6 separate regions of the Homo sapiens genome follow, and regions 1, 3, 4, 5 and 6 are each linked to region 2. The links are contacts of gene promoters, found by promoter capture Hi-C in blood cells and fetal thymus (Javierre and others, 2016). All regions are on one chromosome and are shown on one strand. The core of a region is centred on a gene start or on the middle of the fragment in contact, and the rest is flanking DNA. Distances in the headings are between cores, read along the strand shown.

Region 1 (3,369 bases), core at 79-2,578, 790 kb before region 2:
GAACTGACTTCTCCTATCTGCTACTGAAAGGCCTAGATGGCATCTTCTTTCAGTATAAGATATCATTGAATATAAGATGCCATTGAATATAAGATATCAAAGTACTCCAGAGGGAGTACTCCCTAACATATCTTATACGGCTGTTTCATCTACGTTGAAAATCTGTTGTCTAGTGCAGCCTCCTTCATCAGTGATCTTAGTTAGATCTTCTGGATAACTTGCTGCAGCCCTGTATCAGCATCTGCTGCTTTACCTTGCATTTTTCTGTTATAGAGGCAGCTTCTTTCCTTAAACCTCATGAACCAACCTCTGCTACCTTCAAATTTCTCTTCTGCAGCTTCCTCACTTCTGTCAACATTCACAGAATTGAAGAGAGTTAGGGCCTTGCTCTGGATTAGGCTTTGACTTAAGAGAATATTGTGGCTGGTTTGATCTTCTCTCCAGACCACTAAAACTTTCCATATCGTCATTATGGCTGTTTCTTATTCCTGTGTTCACTGGAGTAGCATTTTTAATTTCCTTCAAGAACTTTTCCTTTGCATTTGACTAACTACTGAGTACAAGAAGCCTAGTTTTCTGTCTATTTTGGTGTTTGACATGTCTTCCTCACTAAGGTACATTTCTAGGTTTTGATTTCAAGTGAAAGATAAATGCCTTTTCCTTTCACTTGAACACTTAGAAGCCATTATAGGGTCATTAATTGGCCTAATTTCAACGTTCAATTATTCTTCCTCCCTTTCTTTGCTGTTGCCTCTGTAGAACCCTTTCTGGCTTCTCTTAATTTCACCTACCTGTATTCTTGATCACACTTTCTTAAGCTTCCTAGTCTTGCTCCATCAATGATATCTTGTCCAGGTTATCATTTATCTTGCCTTTTGCAGTAGAGCCTTCCTTTCAGGCTATTAATATTCCCTTCTCAAGCTCTGAGTAGACTAAAACAGCCAAAATGTGTTTCTTCTCTCTTTAAAAAAAAAATTTGTATTGCACATGTTTAACATATATAACATGATGTTATAAGACATATATAAACAAAATGACAAACCTTAGCTAGTCTAAACAAAAAGGAAAAGGCTCAAATGAAATCAAAAATGAAAGTGAAGAAGTTACAACAGATGCCTTAGAAATAAAAAAGGATCATAAGGGATTATTATGAGCAGTTATATACCAAAAAATGGGATAACCTAGAAGAAATGGATAACTTCTTAGAAAAATACAACATACAAAGATAGAATCAGGAAGAAATAGAAATCCTGAACAGATCAATAACATATAAAGAAATTGAAAAAGCAACAAAAACCCTTACAGCAACAAAAAACCTCATGCCTTCATAGTTGAATTTTACCAAATATTCTAAGAAAAATTAATACCAATACTTATGAAACTCTTCCAAATTACTCGAGGGGGAGTACTTCCTAACACATCTTATAAGGCCACCATCACCTTGATACCTAAGCCAGACAAAGACATCACAAGAAAAGAAAACTATAAGCCAATTCTCTGATGAACATTAATGTAAAAATCCTCTATAAAATATTAGCAAACTAAAGTCAACAACACATCAAAAAGATTTCATATCATGAACAAATGGGATTCATCCCTGACATGCAAGGCTGGTTTAACATATGCAAATCAATCAATGTAATATATCATGTTAACTGAATGAGAGATTAAAAACCACATGATTGTCTCACTTGATGCAGAAAAAGCATTCAACAAAGTCAAAAATCCTTTCTTAATAAAAACTCTTAACATTTTAGGTAAATACGGAAAATTCCTCAACATAATAAAGGCCATTTGGAAAAACTCACCGCTAACATTAGAATCAATGGGGAAAAACTGAAAGCTTTTTCATTAAGATCCAGTATGAAGCCAGGTTGTCTACTCTCTTTAATTCTATTCAACATAGTGTTAGAACTATTAGCAAGAACCATGTGACAAGGAAAAGAAATAAAAGGCATTCAAGTAAGAAAGGAAGAAATACAATTATCTCTATTTGAAGGTGGTATGATCTATTACATGTTAAAAAAACTCAAAGATACCACAAATAAGCTTTTAAATAAATTGATGCACTAAAGTTGTAGGATATGAAATCAACATATAAAAATCAGTATCATTTTTATACACAAATCACAACCTAATTGAAAAAATTGATAAAACAATCCCATTTATGATAGTTTTTTAAAAAATTAGGAATAAATTTAACCAAGGAGGTGAACAATCTCTACACTGAAACTATAACATTGATGAAAGCAATTAAAGAAAATATAAATTAATGGATTGATATCTCATGTTCATAGATTGAAGTAATTATTGCTGTTAAAACACCCATACTACCCAAATCAATATACAGATTCAATGCAACATCTATCAAAATCCTAATGGCATTTTTACAAAAATAAGACAGTCCTAAAATTCATATGGAACCATAAAAGACCCTGAATAGCCAAAATGTTTCTGAGAGAAAAATTAAGACATTACACTTTCTGATTTAAAATTATATTACAAAGCTGTAGTAATCAAAACAGTACGGTACTGGCATTAAAACAGACACATAGACCAGTGGAACACAATAGAGTCCAGAAATAAGTTCATACTTATATGGTCAACTAATTTTTGACAAGGGAACCAAGAGGATACAATGGTGAAAGAAGAGTCTCTTCAATAAATGGTGCTGGAAAATGGTTGCCACATTCCTTCTCTCTTGTAATTCTTCCAAAATATTACTCCTTCTTCTCTTGCCCTTTCTTATGCTCATTGATAGATGCTTAACAATCAGCTCACTCCATTACAGATGTGCTTCTATCCCCACCATCTCTAACCCTGAAGACTCTCAAAAATTACCAGTGATGCCTCGAGGAACAAATCCGATTATGTTTTATCAGCTCTCCTCACACTGACCTTTGAAATAACGAATGTCTTTCTTTGTAAAACTCTTTCCTCCCTCAGCCTCTCTGGTACTCTGCTTGCTTTGTTTTTGCTGGACCTCTATAATCATATGTTCATCCTGCCTTTCCCTCATCCTGCCACACAAATGTAGACTTGCCCCAAAACTGTTTCCTTAAGCCTTCCTGCTCTTTCTCTAAGCATAAACTCACATCTTCAACTATGACATCTTGGTAAACATTTTTCCAGTCAAGACTTTCAGTCCCATCTTCTGTCCACAGACCCAGGCATGCATACCCCAAGGCTTCCTGATATTTTCTTCCTAAATTATCCACTGCTGCTTCATAGCCTGAAATTGAACCCATCTTCCCAGGGAAGACGAGACTCTTCCTGAGCTTCTCTGCTTGTACCAGTGGCACCAACTTAGTCAAGTGGTCACGAATGCTTAGTCAAGTGGTCATGAATGCTTAGTGCAGTCATATGCTC
Region 2 (3,367 bases), core at 572-3,071:
CCTGTCTCTACTAAAAATACAAAAATTAGCCAGGCATGGTGGCATGTGCCTGTAATCCCATCTACTCAGGAGGCTGAGGCAGGAGAATCACTTGAACCCTGAGGCATAGGTTGCAGTGAAGCGAGATGGCACCACTGCACTCCAGCCTGCGCAACAGAGCAAGACACTGCCTCCAAAAAGAAAAAAGAAAGGCGGCCTTAGAAAAAAAGGTTTTGCTTGGTAACATGTAGTCCTAGACTATACACTGCTCTGGCCCCACTTAACAAAGCTCAAAAGCAAGACCCACGTTTGTACATGATCTAGTTCAGTGAGTCCCAGTCCTAGCAAATGGCCAGAATCACCTTTAGACAGTTGACAGGGCCCACTCTGAGAGTATCAATTCAACGGCCTGAGCAACTGATAGTTTTCAAACTCCCTGTGTGATTCTAATCAGCAGCCAGAGTTGGGAACCATTTATTGATGCCAGAGATATAGAAGGTTGCTGATCCAGTTTTTAGAGTGCCCTTTAATTCTCCACACTACTGATACCATTTTTATATGCATGTGTCATATTTGCCCTTTTTTCAGATTTCAGGACACTAACATATTAAGCACAATCCATGTACCAGGACTCACATACATGATCTTAACTCTTACAATAGTCCTATGAGGTACGTATTGTTGGTACAGATGAGGCGACTATGACCTGGAGTTTAGTTACCAATCTAAGATCCCACAATTAATGACAGCCCAGGAAAGGTGACCTCAGAACCCTCTTGCCTGTTGCTCCTCTGCTGCCCACTCCCTGCCCCAGCCAAGCAGAAACCCAGCTGCCCTGGGAAGCAGATAGAAGGAGCCTCTAAGAGATCATGTGAGTGACAGCAGACCAGTCAGCCCGTGGGACTCTGACTAAAGTCCATGATTTCCCCCAGGACCACCTTTACTGCGCTTCCACCCAAAGATGGTCCTTAAAGGTTAGAAGGGAGACCTGGCAGGCCAGGCGACTGTGAAAGTAATGTTTTCATTATCCTTATTCAACTCTACACAATGTGGAACAAGTTTTACTAATACCTTATACTTCTCTGACAAAGTAACAATCTCTCTGAATGAGAAATTCAGTTATACTACAGGAATTCTCCTCCCATCCTATCACTTTCCCAAAAGGAGCAAGACTGGTCCCACTGGGCCAGGTGTTCTCCCTCCTTGGCTGACACTTTCTGGGCTTCAGGGAAGGGAGTGCAGACTGCGCGGTCACGCCCATTTTCAACCCTCCTGCAGTTCTCAAGTGAAGCGGCACAGAAGGCCCGAAAACAGCCACATTCGCCAGAACTGATGTGGCGTCCGCGGGCACAACGCTAGTTGACACAATTGTGGCTTAAAAAACGTAGCAAGTGGACGAACCCACCGTGATGCCGCCTGATGAAGCAGCTGGGGGAGGCTTCCCTTCCTCGGGAGTCTGAAAACCCAGGCTCCCCCAGCCTTGCCCTGGGCGTGGCCACCTTACCCGCAGGAGCACAGTTCACAGATGCACTTCGTCTTCATAGGGGCGATCCTGAGGCCCTGACGTCCCCTCAGAGCATCGCCAGCTGCAGCCGACTCCTAGACCCCAACCACCTGTCTTGGGGCACGCCCAGGCTCGAGGGTCTTGGCAGGTGTTCTGTTTACTCGAAGGAAAATTTAAGTGGCCCTTTTGCAATGTCCTGTCGTCTGTTGCCCTCCTGGAGCTGGCCTAGCGCGAGGTAGCAGCAGGGGGCTTGCACGCGCGCCAGCCCGGGAGACCTCACCCTGCACGCCACCGCCCCGGCCTCCGCAGTCCAGACTTAAGCACCTGGAGCGGCTGACTGGGCCCCAGGAAGCTGCGGGGTCCGTGCCCAGGTAGCCTCTGTGATGTCGCCAGGGCCAGGAGGGGCACGCCTCAGGTGGCAATTACATCACAAGAGCCGCTTGTGAGGTCGGGAAGCTCCCAGCACCTCACTGGCAGGCCCAGGACAGGGGTTCCCCGGTGAACCTTGGAAAAACCTGAAAAAGGTGGAAGTCACTAGAAAGCTCCTGGTGCAGTAAACGGTCACACGTGCAGAAAAGCTGAAAACTCCCTCACCATCACCTTGGGTGGCATTTGCTATCTCTAGGATCCATGGTGCCCCCTCTTAGGGGAATACAGCCTTGACTTCCAAAAGGCTTGCCTTGAACAGGGTTTCCAGATCTTCCTGTGGAAACCTAGGCCTTTGGCTTCAGATGTCTGTTAGAATTGCTCTCACCCACAGACCTGCGCTCTTGAGAACACAGTGGTTTAAGAGCGCCCAGGCCTTCACTGCTCAGGTGGGTTCTCAATCACTTCTCCAGATGCTGGTAATGATGCCTTGAAGCAGGCGTTCTCAAATTCTAGTTGGCATCAGGACCACCTGGCTTGATGAAAACCAGATTGCCAGACCCCACCCCCAGTTTCTGATTCAGTGTTTCTAGGGTAGGCCAAAGACTTGCATTTCTTACAAGCTCTCAGGTAATGCTGGTTCTGCTGGGCCACGGACCACACTTTAAGAACTACAGCTTTTGAGGTTCCTTTACACCCCCTGGAATAGTGTTTCTTCAGCTTACCTGATCCCGAGAGCACACCCCCACCCAGAAGTCTCCCTTGCATCAAAACCTCTAGTCCGGGAATCTAGCTTCAACAAGAAGCCAGGTGATTCTGGTCATGAAGCAAGTTCAAAAGACACTGCTCTGGCCAGTTGTTTGGACTTAAAACATTTTGACTTCCTGCTTATGGGAAATGGGAGCTTAAAGTATTGACAATCTTTATGCTTTTCTTTCCTATGCTTCCTAACTCTTTCCATTCATTTTAGTGAATGAGTCAGTCAGAGGCATCTTGGACTGCAAGACACTTAATATTCAGAGGGTTTCTTTTTGTGTGGGGGGGGTTAGGTTTTTTCCTTCAGTAATAGGCTCTAGAATAGAGGTCAGCAAACTATTGTCTGCAGTTGGCCACTTGACTCTATCTGGCCATTGAGCTAAGAATGGTTTTCATATTTTTTAATGGTTGAAAAAATTAAAATAATAATATTACATGACAAATGAAACTTACCTAAAATTCAAATTTCAGTGTCTGTGAATAAAGTTTTGAATTTTTTCAAAAAATTTGTGTAAACATTCCCGATTTTGCCTCTTGGCCCACAAAAGCTAAAATATTCACTATCTGACATTTTACAGAGAGAGAGTTCCAACCCCAGTTATAGGAAGTCAGCAAGGTAGATTCAGACAGGAGCAAAGCTTATTGATCATTCTTAAGAACAGTGGGGTGGGAAGCTGCTCCTTGCCTTCCCAGTAGGAAGTCAGAACTCTACAGGGGAGGATGGAAACATGGCCAGACAAAAAAGAGGTGGGAGCTATTGGA
Region 3 (3,476 bases), core at 676-3,175, 760 kb before region 2:
GTTCACCCTAGAGGCTCATCTCTCTTCAGCAGACCTGGCCCTCTCTTAACCATTTTTTCCACTCAATTTCCATCTCCTCCGTGAAGCCTTTCCTTAGTACTAAAGAGATCATTTCTTTCTTTGAGCTCATAGCAGTTAAAATCTGCACCAACCTTTGTTTTGCCTTATGTACTGCCTAATGAGAGAACTCATATTAGTATATTATTTTTAATGGGTAAGTGCATTATTTCTTTGAATTATAAAGTAACAGTGGGGGAGAATAATAAAATGTTTTAAGTAATTGGCATTAAAATACTGAAAATAGACACTCATTCTTTTGTGTGCAGAAGGATGGTTGCAGGGACCAAAAGGTCCAGGTTATTTTATACCTTGTGGAGTCTCACTCTGTTACCCAGGCTGGAATGTGGTGGTGTGATCTTGGCTCACTGCAACCTCTCCCTCCCAGGTTCAAGTGATTCTCGTGCCTCAGCCTCCCAAGTAGCAGGGACTACAGGCAGGCACCACCATGCCTGGTATATTTTTTGTATTTTCAGTAGAGACGGAGTTTCACCATGTTGGCCAGTTTAGTCTCAAACTCCCAACCTCAAGTGATCCGCCCGCGTTGGCCTCTCAAAGTGCTGGGATTGCAAGAGTGAGTCATCACGCCCGGCCACCTCACAGTCATATTGACATCCATAGTAGAACACTTTTAGTTGTGTTATTGGATATAGCTGTCTCTGAGCCTTTTATGTTCTCACAAAAATTAAGACTTTTATTTGTAAGCAGAAAAGAGGAAAATTGGTAAGGGGCAGTGCAGGCATTTCTAGTAATTTTGGTTCTGCAGGCCCCCTGGTTACATTTATCTTCCAAATTTGAAAATATATTCTCAACAAATTTAGTCCTCGGCATCATTCTTATTCTACCACTGAGAGTGTCAAGTGTGGTACCATTAGGATGGCAATTTTATGTGTTGATCCCGCCTAAAAGCCAAATTCAGATTCATTTCACTCACAATGCCAACCATGTGGTCAACTTCATCCAGTTCCTTGGTTGTAACCTAGATTTCAATGGACAAAATGTAATGTGAAGGCTCCATATCTTATTACCTAATTCTGAGTGATCAGTCTTCCACTGTTGAGTATCAAATATCTACATTTATCATACCAGATCTTAATCATTGTCAACTGTGCAGAAAGATCCTTAGAGATTTTTTTATGCATTAAATTCTGGAAATTCTCAGGTACGTTTCCCTAAAATGCGTAAATCCTGCTGCTGTCCTGTGTGCATACATACAAATCATAATTTAAATGACCTATTTAAACTTTAGGTTTAGATAATTTGGAGGGTGAGTCTAGAATGAAGCTATGGAAGAGAAATTTTGAATGAAGGAATTTAGATATCTCTCACTTGTATTGCAAAAGCAAGAAGTGTGAGTTCTCATTCATGCAGTTTAGTCTGATTATTCCAGGTGTGTCATGGGAAGAAAGCTCGAATCTTTATCCCTATCGCTACGCATGGTTTATTTGATGCATTCGTAAAAATGTAGGTAATATCTAGTGCTCTTTCTTCTTGCATATTAAGCTTTGATTAACATATGGTAATAATGTAGCGTTGTTGAGTTGTCCAAATCTTAAAAAACATGAAATATGGAGTACAAAATCACACATGTGCAAACTGAGCTAATATTTCTTTCCCCCAAATAAGCAAGTTTTTCATCTAGATTATTTTCAGTTATAGAAATTGATTATATCCTCATGAAAAGAGTTAGTAGTTTGAAAAGAAATCTGCAATGTCTGAGGTATTTCATAATACAACAGAAATAGGCAAAATAAAAAGAAAATTTGTACTTAATGCAAAAAAAAATATTCATTATGCTCATTTAGAGAGAAACAAGTCTGAAAAATTTCAGCACCAAGGTTAATTTTTATTATATAATAAGTGCACAAAAACAGAGTTTGGAAAAGGCATGATTTTCAACCACTTTTTCTAGCATTAAGACTAAAATAAAAAAACTAAAATGAGGCAAATCGTTGCAAAAGAGACTATTATAAAAGATAGTAAGTAAATGTACACAGCATTCATTATATCATCCTGTTTGCAGCACTGCATTTGAGATTGTGTCAGCACTTCCATTGTAAGCCTGTACTTTGAGGAATTTGGAATTTGGCCAATAAAAGATCATTCTGAACTGAAAGTTGGCACAGAAAATTTCCTCCCATGAGCAAAAGTTGTTTTCATTATTTCTTCTTCATCATTGTCTTCTTTTTTCTTTCCTTTTTACAAAATTCCATGAAACCTCATCTGGTTGCTTTTAAGCTTGGATATCTAAAGTAAGAGAGCCAACCCAATGATTTGAAGACAATACATCTTTTGTCCATCTGGGCAAAATTTGTATTTGGCATTTTATGTGAAAGAGCCATACAATTCAATTGGGAGTATTTAAAGAAAGAGTAAAAACTAATTTCAAAAGACCTCTTAGTCATTACCTCTAATAATGAAGTTAAAAGGAACAAAATGAGGGTGAGAGAGAGCTTATTCACTTACTCCCATTATTGTGCGCATTACTTTATAGCTATTAATAAAAACTGTTCTTCACAGCACTTCTGCATAGTTTCATACCCATTTATTTTACAGCTTTATTGATGTATTTTATATATACAATAAAATTAGCCCATTTTAAGTGTACAGTTCTATGAGTTTTGGTAAATATGAATAGTCATCCAACTATCACCAACCACAGTCAAGTTTCAGAACAATTTCATCAGCACAAAAAGTTCTCTTATTCTACTTACCAGTCATTGCCCATCCCTAATCTCACCTTAGCCCTAGGCAACTACTGATCTGGTTTTTTTTGCCACTACAGATCTGCCTTTTCTAGAATTTTCTGTAAATGAAATCAGATAATATATAATGTATTACGTCTAAATTGTTTCACATAGCATGTTTTTGAGGGCCATCTGTCATCTTTAATGTATCAGTAGTCTATTCCTTCGTATTGCTGAGTAGTATTTCATTGTTTAGATGTACCAGAATTTGTTAATCCTTTAGTGAGTCATAGACATTTGGGGCTATTTCCAGTTTGAGACTATTATTAATAAAACTGTTATTACATACTTGTGTGCAGGTCTTTATGTAGGCGTGTTTCTACTTCTCTTGGGTAAATCCTACCTCAGGGTAGGATTGTAGGCTCCTATGATAAATGCATGTTCAAATTTATATGGAACTGCCAAACTCTTTTCAAAAGTGGATGTGCCATCTTGCATTTCCACCAGCAATATATGAGGGTTCTGGTTTCCCTACAAGTGTCTCTTCTGAAAGTTTCTTACTTAAAGTCTATTTTATCTGATACAGGTTTAGCCACCAAAAGTCTTTAGTTATCCCAGTGGTTGTGTACTGATACCCAACTGTGCTTATTTGCCATTTGTATATTTTTTTTAATGAGTTGTTTTTTCAGACCTATCACCCCTGCCCCTTTTTTATTGGGTGTTTGTCTTTTT
Region 4 (3,336 bases), core at 308-2,807, 770 kb before region 2:
GCCCAGCAACCATCGTAATATACAGCCCGGGTGCTCTGATAGTGACATCTCCCTGTCAGCACTGCCTGTTCCTTGGGAATGTTTTCTTTGATTCATTTTCCCAAGAAATTTCATTAAGCCATATTCAAAGTAAAAGAGTTTTAAACCCCCACTGACTTTTACCCCTCTTCTGTGCTTGTACTTTATCTGCCAGAGAAGTCCCAGAGACAGCTGTACCCCTGCCTCAAGCTTACACATTCCATGAGAGTGGTTTTTGTTCATTAAAAATAATTTCCTGATATCTTCAACTTATCTTAAATTCATCCAAAAAATAAGCTTGATTGATGTACAGGTAGAATGTTGGATAGATGATAGGTATGAAATAAGTCAAATATAATAAAATATCAATTACAAAAATTAGATGTCAGGTATGGTGATCATCACAACACAATTCTTTAAATTTTCATATTTGAAATTTTTCATAAAAATGTTTTTTAAAAACAAAAAGTTATTTTGTAATTTTCTAATTTATCAAGAGTATCTTGCTACAGAATGGAGGAGATCCAAAAAGATAATGTGAAAGGCAGAGAATTCAAAACAAAATCCAACTCAATTAAAAATTTGCAATGGACTTGAATAGACATTTTCTCTAAAGATATACAGATGTTCAATAAGCGCATGAAAAGATGCTCAACACCCCAGTTATTAGGAAAATGTACAATAACACAACAATGAAATATCACTTCACACTACAATAGTTATTATTCCAAAATAATAATAATAACAACAACAGAAAATAAAATGTGTGGGTGATGATATGGAGATATTGGAATCTTCGTGCATTGCTGTTGGGAGTGTAAAATAGTACAGCCCCTATGAAAAACAGTTGAGCAGCTTCTCAAAAAGTTAAGCACAGAATTACTTTATCATCCAGCTATATTCTCTTTCTAGATATATACCCCCAAAGAACCGAAAGCACACACCCATGTTTATAGTGCATTATTCACAATAGCTAAAAGGTGGAAACAACAGATGAGTAGATAAATGAGGCCTAGACATAAAATATTATTTGGTCATAAAAAGAAATGATTCTGATAGAGTTATAATGAATCTTACAAATATGCTAGGTAAAATAAGGACAAATACTATGTGATTCCAATTATAGAAGGCACCTAGAATAGGAAACTTCATAGAGACAGAAACGAGAATTGAGATCTTCAGAGCAGAAGGAAGGAGGGAAAAAGGAGTTATTGTTTCCTGGGTACAGAATTTCTGTTTGGGATGATGAAAAAGTTTTTGGAAATAGATCTTGGTGATAGCTGCACAACAATGTGAATGAACGTACGTAAAGCTGCTAAGTTGTACTCTTAAAAATAGGTAAAATGGCAAATTTTATGTTATGTGTATTTACAAGTAATAAAATAAAAACCAGGTTTTTTGCTAAATTGTACACTTAAAAATAGGCAAAATGGCAAATTTTATGTTGTATGTATTTACCAGTAATAAAAGAACAACCAGAGTTCCTTTCTCAAACAAGATGCGTACGCAAGAAAAAGATCAATGAAAAGGCAAGGTGATATGCTAGTATGCAAAATGAGGTAAACGAGGAATTATCTGAAATAAAAGAAAAAGAGTTGGAGATGACAGAACATTGGGAGAAAGAGGGTTCTGAGCCAGAAAGCCACATAGGAGAAAGGAGGATGGGGAATGCAGGGAGAGCCTCAGAGCCTGCCAGGGCCTCCTTGTAATTGCAGCTTTCTCTGCATTCTCTCTTCTTCCCTTAATCTGCCATCCTTGCCTCTTGCCATTCTGTTCCAAAGGGAGAGGTCTCACCTAGCAGAGACAATCACATTCCTGTGTGGCCTGGATCTCCACACCCACCGCCAGTGCCTTCTCCAGGACCCTCATGGCACCAGGATCCCCGCCCGCATCATCGATCTTTCCCTGGCTCCTGGAGTCTTCCAGTAGCGCTTCTGTGTGCTTACATTGCTCTCTCAAATGAACCAACAAAGCCTGCAAATTCTGCCTGGTCCCTCACACACCAGGTTGTCTCTCATCTTTCTCCTTGTCATAACCACGCATCTTCACTTACTGTCTACACATCCTTAATTTTATTCAGTCTTTATTATACTTTGGCTTCTCTCCTGATTATTGAATGAAATTGCTTCTGCGTAGGTCAGCAATGACCTTCATCTTACCAAGTCCAGTGAACATTCCTCAGTCCTTACCAGAATTGCCACGATCATTCAACGCACTTGACGACTCCCTTCTTGACATAGTCTCTGCCATTGGCTTCCAGTTAAGTGACTTTTCTTTGACTCTGAGTCTTCACTGTTGGCTTCTGTTTCCTGCATATTTCTCCTGGCTCCATATTATATCCTCTTTCCTTCTCTCTACATTCATTTCCTAGGCAATTTCTTATGCTCATGTGGGCTTAAAACACCATCCATGTGCTTACCAAAGTCATAGCTTCCAGCCCAAACTTTAGGAATGAAAGGCCCATATAGCCAACCACCTACTACCCATCTTAGTTAAATTCCTCATCTACGCTTTGGGAAGCTGAGGTGAGCGGACCACTTGAACCCAGGAGTTTAAGACCAGCCTGGGCGACACGGTGAAACCCGTCTCTACAAAAAGTACAAAAAATTAGCCAGGCATGGTGGCACATGCCTGTAGTCCCAGCTACTCAGGAGGCTGAGGTGAGCCCGGGAGGCAGAGGTTGCAGTAAGCTAATATCCTGCCACCACACTCCAGCCTGTATGACAGAATAACTCTGTCTCAAAAAAAAAAAAAAAATACATATATCCTTATGTAGCATCACAAGCTTAATGTGCTCAGGTAGTACAGCTTACAAGGCTCCCAGGGGACACAGCCCTCCTCTTTCTGCTCCCCTCTCCCCCCATCACACCTCCTTTGACTTGTTAGGTTTCCATCACTTTGACTTTTCTGAAAGTTTCCTAAATGTGCCAAACTCAAGTTTTCTTGGGAACTGGGGTCTAATAACGCCTAATGCGCTTGTAAGATGAAATAAGGTAATAGGTGACGTGCTTAGAGTAATAGGAAATGGTGCCATTGTGTTATTTTTATTCCTATTCATGCTGGTTTTCTTAGTTAAAAAAATAAAAAGGGAAAGAACAATTATATAAAGTTCACAATTATGGTTGTTTCCTAGTCACTGTGAGATCATGATCTTTCTTTGTAACTACTTACCATTTTTAACTCATTCAAGGAGTTGGAAATAATTTGCTGATACTACCCCTCTGGAAGACTTGGAAATTAGTTTTTATCTTATTTTAACATTGAGAAAACTGAGGCTGGCATTTAAACCGTCAAAGGCATCAGCCAGCTCAGGGCAAA
Region 5 (2,996 bases), core at 266-2,765, 810 kb before region 2:
TTGTTGGTCTTTTGGGAATGCATTATGTTTCTTTAACATGAAGATTTTATAATTTTCTTTAATTCTGAAGAATACTCAGCCTTTATGTGTTCACACAGTGCCCCTTCCCCACTCTGTTCTCTTATTCTAGGATGCCTGAGTTGTGTGTTGAAACATCTTATTTATCCTTCACATCTTTTAGCTTGATTTTCCTTCTTTTTATCTCTCTATACTGCACTAAGTTGTGTGCTTTGTGGATATATTTTCAGCCTTATTTTACTTTTTTTGAATGTAAGAGCTTGCCTATAAATTTTCCTTTAACAGTTCTTTTGCTACATTATGCATGTTTTGATATGTAATTGTTGTTATAATTTAGTTCTACGTATTTTCTAATTTCCATTATAATTTCTTCTTATTTAGAAGTATGTTTATAAATTTCCAAACATATTTATCTTTTTGTTATTGGCCTTGTACATTGTCAACTGTGTGTGTTATCCAGTTGTTGCTGCAGTGTTCTATATAAGTCCCTTAGATTAATGTTATTTTATTGGGGTTGGTGGCATTTTCATATCTATATTCTTGTTGTTTTATTTATGTCTTTTTGATTTATCAGTTTGTCAGGCATGTTAGAATTTCCCACCATTATGACAAATTTATAATGATTTTCTTCAAGTTTAGTGTTTGTTTTTTATATTTCAGACTCTATTATAAAGTACATTCATGTTTAGATTTGTATCTTCCCGAGTCTTAAAAGTTATATAACCATTTATACCCTCTTTATCCCTAGTAATAATTTTGCCTTGAATTCTATTTTATTCCATATTAAAATGGCTATCTATGATTTTGTTTGATTAGTATTTTCCTGTTAAATTTTTTCCATCTTTAACTTTCAGTGTTTTCTTTATGTTCTAGAAGTATCCTTTGTGTATAACATATAGCTAATTTTGTTTTTGCTTTTTTCTCAATCCAGTCTGATAAACTTTCTAAAATTTCAAAACTGGTCAATTTGTATAATTGTTCTTATTGTCATTTGGATTCATATTTTCATAATTTCTATTTTATCTGTTACTTTTTTGTTGCTACCTTTGGCTTGGTTTATTTTATTTATTTAATTTGGAACTTCTAGTTTCTATTCATTTTGTACTTATCTTGGCAATTGTGACATACATATTTAAATTAACATCATCTAAGGTTAATAAATATCTTTAATCACCTTACAAATAAATTCATTTGAAATGCTTTCACTTCAATCATCTTTTCCCAGTTTGCTTACTGTTTTTGTTTAGGATTTTAGTCCTACTTTGATTTTGTTTTTATCTCATAAATTAGTTATTAGCATTGTATATTCCAATCAGTATTTGTTTCAATTTACTCATATACTCTTTTTTTTTTTTTTTTTGCCATTCCTTTTTTCTTTTTAAACCTAAATCCTGGGAGAATTTTCTTTCTTCTTGAAATAAATAGTTTAGAAGTTTGTTTATTATGTATAGAAAACTCTTACCATAATTGTTTGCCTGCAAAAACATCTTTATTTTATCCTAATTCTTGAAAAGTAGTTTTCCTTGGTAGACAATTCCAGGTTGATATTTATTTTATATTTTTACTTTCCAGACATTACTGTACCATTTTTATCTCTTATGTGGCTATTGAAAATAGAGCTGCCAGTGTAATTTTTGTATCTGTATAGATAATCTGTCTTTTCTGTCTGCTTTCAAGTCTTCTCTTTGTCATTACTTTGCAGTTTTACTGTGAAGTATCTAGGTATAGATTTCATTTTAATTTATTCTTCCTCATTCATTTGGGGAGGGAGATTTCTAAATTTAAGGCTTGGTGTATTCATCAATTTCCAGCCAATATCTCAAAATCTGCTTCTTCTTCATTATCAGTATTACATGTTGAGCATCCGAAATCTGAAAACCCAACATTCTAAATGCCCCAAAATCTGAAATTTTTTGAGCACGAACATGATACTCAAAAGGAAATTATCTTTGGTCAATTTCAGATTTGGGGGTTTCAGATTTGAAATGATCGATCATTAAGAATAATGCAATTATTCTAAAATCTGAAAAATTCTGAAATCTGAAACAATTCTGGTTCCAAGAATTTCATATATGAGATACTCAACCTGTATCTCCTTTAAGAACTACAAATATGTAAGTTAGAATTTTTTTCATTTTATTTTCTTTACCATCTTTTTGCTTCTTTTGTTGTATTTGGTTTAATATGCATTTATCTCCACTTCAGTTCATTAGCCCTGTCCTCAATGGTGTCTAATCTCTTTAAATCTGACTTATTAATATAAATTATACTTTTCATCTCTAGAAATTCAATTTGTTTATTTTTCAAATATGCTTAGTTAGTTCTAATAATATCTTACTACTTCATACCTGCAAGCATTTTATTTAATCCTTGAACTATATTAAATATATCTGTTTTATGTATTGTACCTGAAAATTCTAGTATATGCAATGTATCTATCTTTAATTCTATGGTTGTTGCTTCTTTTGTCTCTCACCCATGGTAGCTTGTTTCTTTATGGGACCAGTGATTTTTTTTTAATTGTGAATACATTTTCTTTTGAACTTACCATGGGAAATTTTTGAGGCCTGGGTTTAACGTGTGTTCCTCCATAGAGGTTGTATGTTTTCCTCTGGTAGGCATTTGGGATCATTGCTAATCTAGGACTCTTTTATATTAATTTTTAAAAAGCCACAGATGTTAGGAATACAGATTCCAGAGAAGTATAAGTAAAAGCATTCTTTTTTTTTCTTCTTTTATCCTCTTTTCCAGAACCAAGCCAGAGCCTAGAACATGCCCAGTCCTTAGAAGCCAGAGATTTTTCCTGCTTCAACTGTTGAAAAAGTTGCCATTTGGGCATGGTCTTGGTCCCTTTGTGCTGCTTTAAGAGAATACCACAAATGGAGTAATTTATAAAGAACAGAAATTTATTTCTCACAGTTCAGAAGGCTGGGAAATCCAAGATCAAGACACCAGCAGGTTCGGTGTCTGGTCTCTGC
Region 6 (3,479 bases), core at 976-3,475, 560 kb before region 2:
CCAGTTATTTTCTGACCATGCTGATTATTTTTCTGTTCCTCTACAAATAGTATCTCATCATTAGCTTTGTTGCTACTTTTCTTTCTCCCATTACCTATTCTTCCCTTTGGATCTGCTTAATGAGCAGGGTTTATGTGTGAAGAGGGAGGAGGTGGTATTAGGTAAAATGTTCCATTAATAGAACTAGCTGAAACTCTTCAGTTAATGACTGTGATAGGAGGGAAAAAAATAAACCCTTTAGCAGAAAGCTCTGGTGTGTAACAGAGAGACACATGTAACATAGCTTTATGAATGAAAGTTTATTTCAATCAATCACCTTTCTTTAATGTGATGAGGATTTCAGACAAAAACAATAGTGGAAAGACAAAGTTAAGCATTTTTACATCTACTTGTGAATACGCTTTAGCTTATGAGCATTAGCTAGTTTTTGAGAGATTTGTAAAACAAATCTTTCTAAAAGGGAAAAGCATATTTCAAGAATGGGCTCTCTTTGTTATGGATTTGTACTGTCCATTTTTCTAGGTCCACATACTTAATATTGAGAACAAAGGATAATCTTTGTATGACCTTGACTTTCCTAACAGCATGAAAATAGGATTTTTAAAGTTTCTCTCTCTTTAATTGATATACCATATGAAGTAGGTAACCTAAAGTTGAACAACCTGCTTTTCTTCACCTTTTTGAAAAGCAACGCAGCAGGTATGTACATAGGCAGACCTGCCTGTATTCACATGCCCATTATGGCTTGATCAGGTTTTCCATATTCGTGTGTTTCATACCTCTTGTCAGTATTTTTTAATAATGAAAGGAAAGAACATTAATTCTAAATGTCTTGTACCTCCACTGCATATATTTCTGGGCTATCAGGAGATCTGAAAAGGGAAAACGTCCTGATGACACACCTATGGCAATGTAAGGCCAGGGCTGCTCTTTTATTCTTTCAAAACTCAATGATTTCCTTTGCAGATAAGGGGAAATACATCCTTGTTTGACATTTGACACTTTTCTAAAACTGTAATAAAACCTTCCTCTAGTAGAGTCAAATCTCCCTTGCTGGTGGATTAAGCAGCTTCAGAAGCTTCCTGACCTTCTCGTTGCTGTTGCTGGCCTTGTCGTCATTTCACTGCTCATTAGCACTTCCTTCAGGGCTGGACTGGCCTCCAAGGTCATCCCATCCAACCCTCTTGCAATAGTGGATGGAAAAATGAGGTAAAACTCAGTTCAGCCTTTTCTGCATTATAACAGCTCTGATAAAGGACGTGGGTGAGGTGCGGAGGAAGCTGAAACTTGGTTAAAAGAAGGTTTGGGGATTAACTGAGGATTTAATTCATCCTTTCTTTCTCTCCCGTGGCTAAAATAGATAGTTGAGAGTTGGCAGTGCATCAAAACCAGGCTGCTCCTCAACCCCAAATTTCAGCCCCACTCATCCTGGAGTCTTTGTTGAGGGTTTCTTTTTAAACTGGGGGATCTAAGTTTCTAATTGTGCCTTTACAATTAGCAAATCTTAAATGCCTTCAATTGTCACTTTACAGAGAAGCAACTTGCTTTGTTTTTTTCCCCCCAAATTAAGTCCTTAATAACACAAAATAACTTATGCCACTGTTTAGGCTTAGTGAGGAACCTTCAGAAAATGTATAGAGTATTTATTTTGCAAGTCAAGAGAGAAAGTAAAGAGGAACTTTATGGAGGCGAAATAAAACAGTTGTACAGAACACATTTACAGGGCACATTAAGTCGGTTTTTGTCTATGGTTCTTTCCCTTTATGGCATATGTTATATATTGACAGGGATTAAGTTTCTCTCCTGAATGGAACAATACACAGTCACAGGGAGCTACTGTACTTTACAAAGCAACAGACATCAGCACAGGCAAATGGCAAATAGAAATGCATCTCACAAAGAACTAACCAGGTCCATGGGAAGCACAGTGCTTGGCTTCATCTTTTGCAATTCTGCATCTTTTGCATTTCCCTTCTCGCTCTGCTGCTCGCTCGCCTTTCTTTTTCGTCCTTTTCCCCCTTTTTTGCTCGCACCGTTACACTTTCTCTGTCCTCCTGGCTTTGTTATTCAGCATGTCTGATTAGCAGGAGCCTGATTGGCTGGCTGCCTGCTCCGAGAGAGATTCCATTCAGCTTACCCCCCACCCATCCACCCACCCACCCCTCGGTCAGGAAATGTGAGAGGGGCTGATGGAAGCTGATAGGCAGGACTGGAGTGTTAGCACCAGTACTGGATGTGACAGCAGGCAGAGGAGCACTTAGCAGCTTATTCAGTGTCCGATTCTGATTCCGGCAAGGATCCAAGCATGGAATGCTGCCGTCGGGCAACTCCTGGCACACTGCTCCTCTTTCTGGCTTTCCTGCTCCTGGTAAATGCCTTTTCATTTCAATGCATTGCTATTGCCATTGAGTCTGGGTGCTGTTGGGGGTGTGTGTGTGTATGTGTGTTTGTGTGTGTGTGTGTGTCTTTATCTTAAAACTCCAGGTAAAATAATTTACACGATTACAAAGAGAGAATACTCCTTCTAGAACTTTTAACCTCAACTTCCCAAGCAAGATAAAGTCTGCAAGACTTTCTGGAATTAGTTACTGCTATACAGTAATACTGATACTGAGACATGAACTTTGGGACATACTGCATGGAGTTTGGGAGCTGAGGACTGTATATATGGTGGTGTGTATGCTTGGAATTTGGATAACAGACATCCTGAAATTAAACTCACTCACTGTGGTGTTCCTGGAATTTTTTGATGGATAGGCTTTGCAGAGCTTGCCCGTACCGCCTTTAATGAATTACTTTCCATCTATGCACATGTACTATGGAACCAGGTAAAGAGGGGAATGAGAGCCTCTTTGCAGCCAACCCAGATTATGGCTCTTAATTACTGCAAGTCATTTATGGATAGAAGTTAATGCTAGGATTTATGAATTGAGGATTATGGCCTTTGATCTCAAATTTACTTTTAAAGAAGAAAAAGGAATGGTGACTTTTAGTACGGCTGATTGCCACAGTCATAGTGATAAGATGCTCTGCTCTTGAACGTCAGTACACATTGCATTTTTGACTCGAAGTAAATGTTCCGTTGTGACTCATACTTGGTTTTATGGGCAGAAAATGAACATTTACTGTCCAAAATAAATCTACACTCAAAATATTAATAGCAATGCACATTTTTTAAACCAGAGTGTTCTGGGCAGGCAGCTTAGTAAACCTCATCTGAAGGTTTGATTCCAAAATTTGCACACACTGATCCAAACAAATGTGATTGTAGTTTTTCCTGTCACATTTATAACATGCCAGAACTTCCTCAGAAGGTAACAAGGCAGGAAGAGAACAAGGTAAAAATGTAGCAAATGAATAGGTTGCATTGATTCCTTGATGGGGAAGGAATGTTTGTTCTGATTATATTCTGACAAATCTGATCTGCGCTATAATTTTGAAGTAGGGAAGAAAGCCATTTGGTACAAACTGAAAAAGTC

The links. Contacts are between HindIII fragments. The CHiCAGO score rates a contact against its expected background, and 5 or more counts as called.
Region 1: a fragment that was not itself captured here is called in contact with the fragment with the promoter of SAXO1 in region 2 in 8 of 17 cell types (fetal thymus, megakaryocytes, naive CD4 T cells and 5 more); the score reaches 13.0 in fetal thymus.
Region 3: a fragment that was not itself captured here is called in contact with the fragment with the promoter of SAXO1 in region 2 in 3 of 17 cell types (fetal thymus, megakaryocytes and M2 macrophages); the score reaches 9.4 in fetal thymus.
Region 4: a contact is called between a fragment that was not itself captured here and the fragment with the promoter of SAXO1 in region 2, in 16 of 17 cell types (fetal thymus, megakaryocytes, naive CD4 T cells and 13 more). The highest score is 43.2, in fetal thymus.
Region 5: a contact is called between a fragment that was not itself captured here and the fragment with the promoter of SAXO1 in region 2, in 1 of 17 cell types (fetal thymus). The highest score is 8.0, in fetal thymus.
Region 6: the fragment with the promoter of ADAMTSL1 here is called in contact with the fragment with the promoter of SAXO1 in region 2 in 2 of 17 cell types (endothelial precursors and fetal thymus); the score reaches 6.7 in endothelial precursors.

What each region holds. Positions count from the first base shown.
Region 1 is chr9:18,240,586-18,243,954 of GRCh38, forward strand. It overlaps a transcript of ADAMTSL1 not described here. Among named protein-coding and RNA genes, the nearest start is that of ADAMTSL1, 230 kb to the right of the region's middle. The HindIII fragment of the contact is 1,025 bases long and covers 817-1,841 here.
Region 2 is chr9:19,031,388-19,034,754 of GRCh38, forward strand. SAXO1 (stabilizer of axonemal microtubules 1) reads right to left here and starts at 1,822. Exons shown (of 4, transcript NM_153707.4): 1 at 1,484-1,822. The coding sequence starts at 1,521. RefSeq lists enhancers at 1,144-1,697, 1,698-2,251. The HindIII fragment of the contact is 8,262 bases long and covers 1-3,241 here.
Region 3 is chr9:18,272,730-18,276,205 of GRCh38, forward strand. It overlaps a transcript of ADAMTSL1 not described here. Among named protein-coding and RNA genes, the nearest start is that of ADAMTSL1, 200 kb to the right of the region's middle. The HindIII fragment of the contact is 735 bases long and covers 1,559-2,293 here.
Region 4 is chr9:18,256,751-18,260,086 of GRCh38, forward strand. It overlaps a transcript of ADAMTSL1 not described here. Among named protein-coding and RNA genes, the nearest start is that of ADAMTSL1, 220 kb to the right of the region's middle. The HindIII fragment of the contact is 2,488 bases long and covers 314-2,801 here.
Region 5 is chr9:18,221,284-18,224,279 of GRCh38, forward strand. It overlaps a transcript of ADAMTSL1 not described here. Among named protein-coding and RNA genes, the nearest start is that of ADAMTSL1, 250 kb to the right of the region's middle. The HindIII fragment of the contact is 5,046 bases long and covers 1-2,996 here.
Region 6 is chr9:18,471,928-18,475,406 of GRCh38, forward strand. It overlaps ADAMTSL1 (ADAMTS like 1), which reads left to right and starts at 2,226. Exons shown (of 29, transcript NM_001040272.6): 1 at 2,226-2,368. The coding sequence starts at 2,306. The HindIII fragment of the contact is 3,309 bases long and covers 1,077-3,479 here.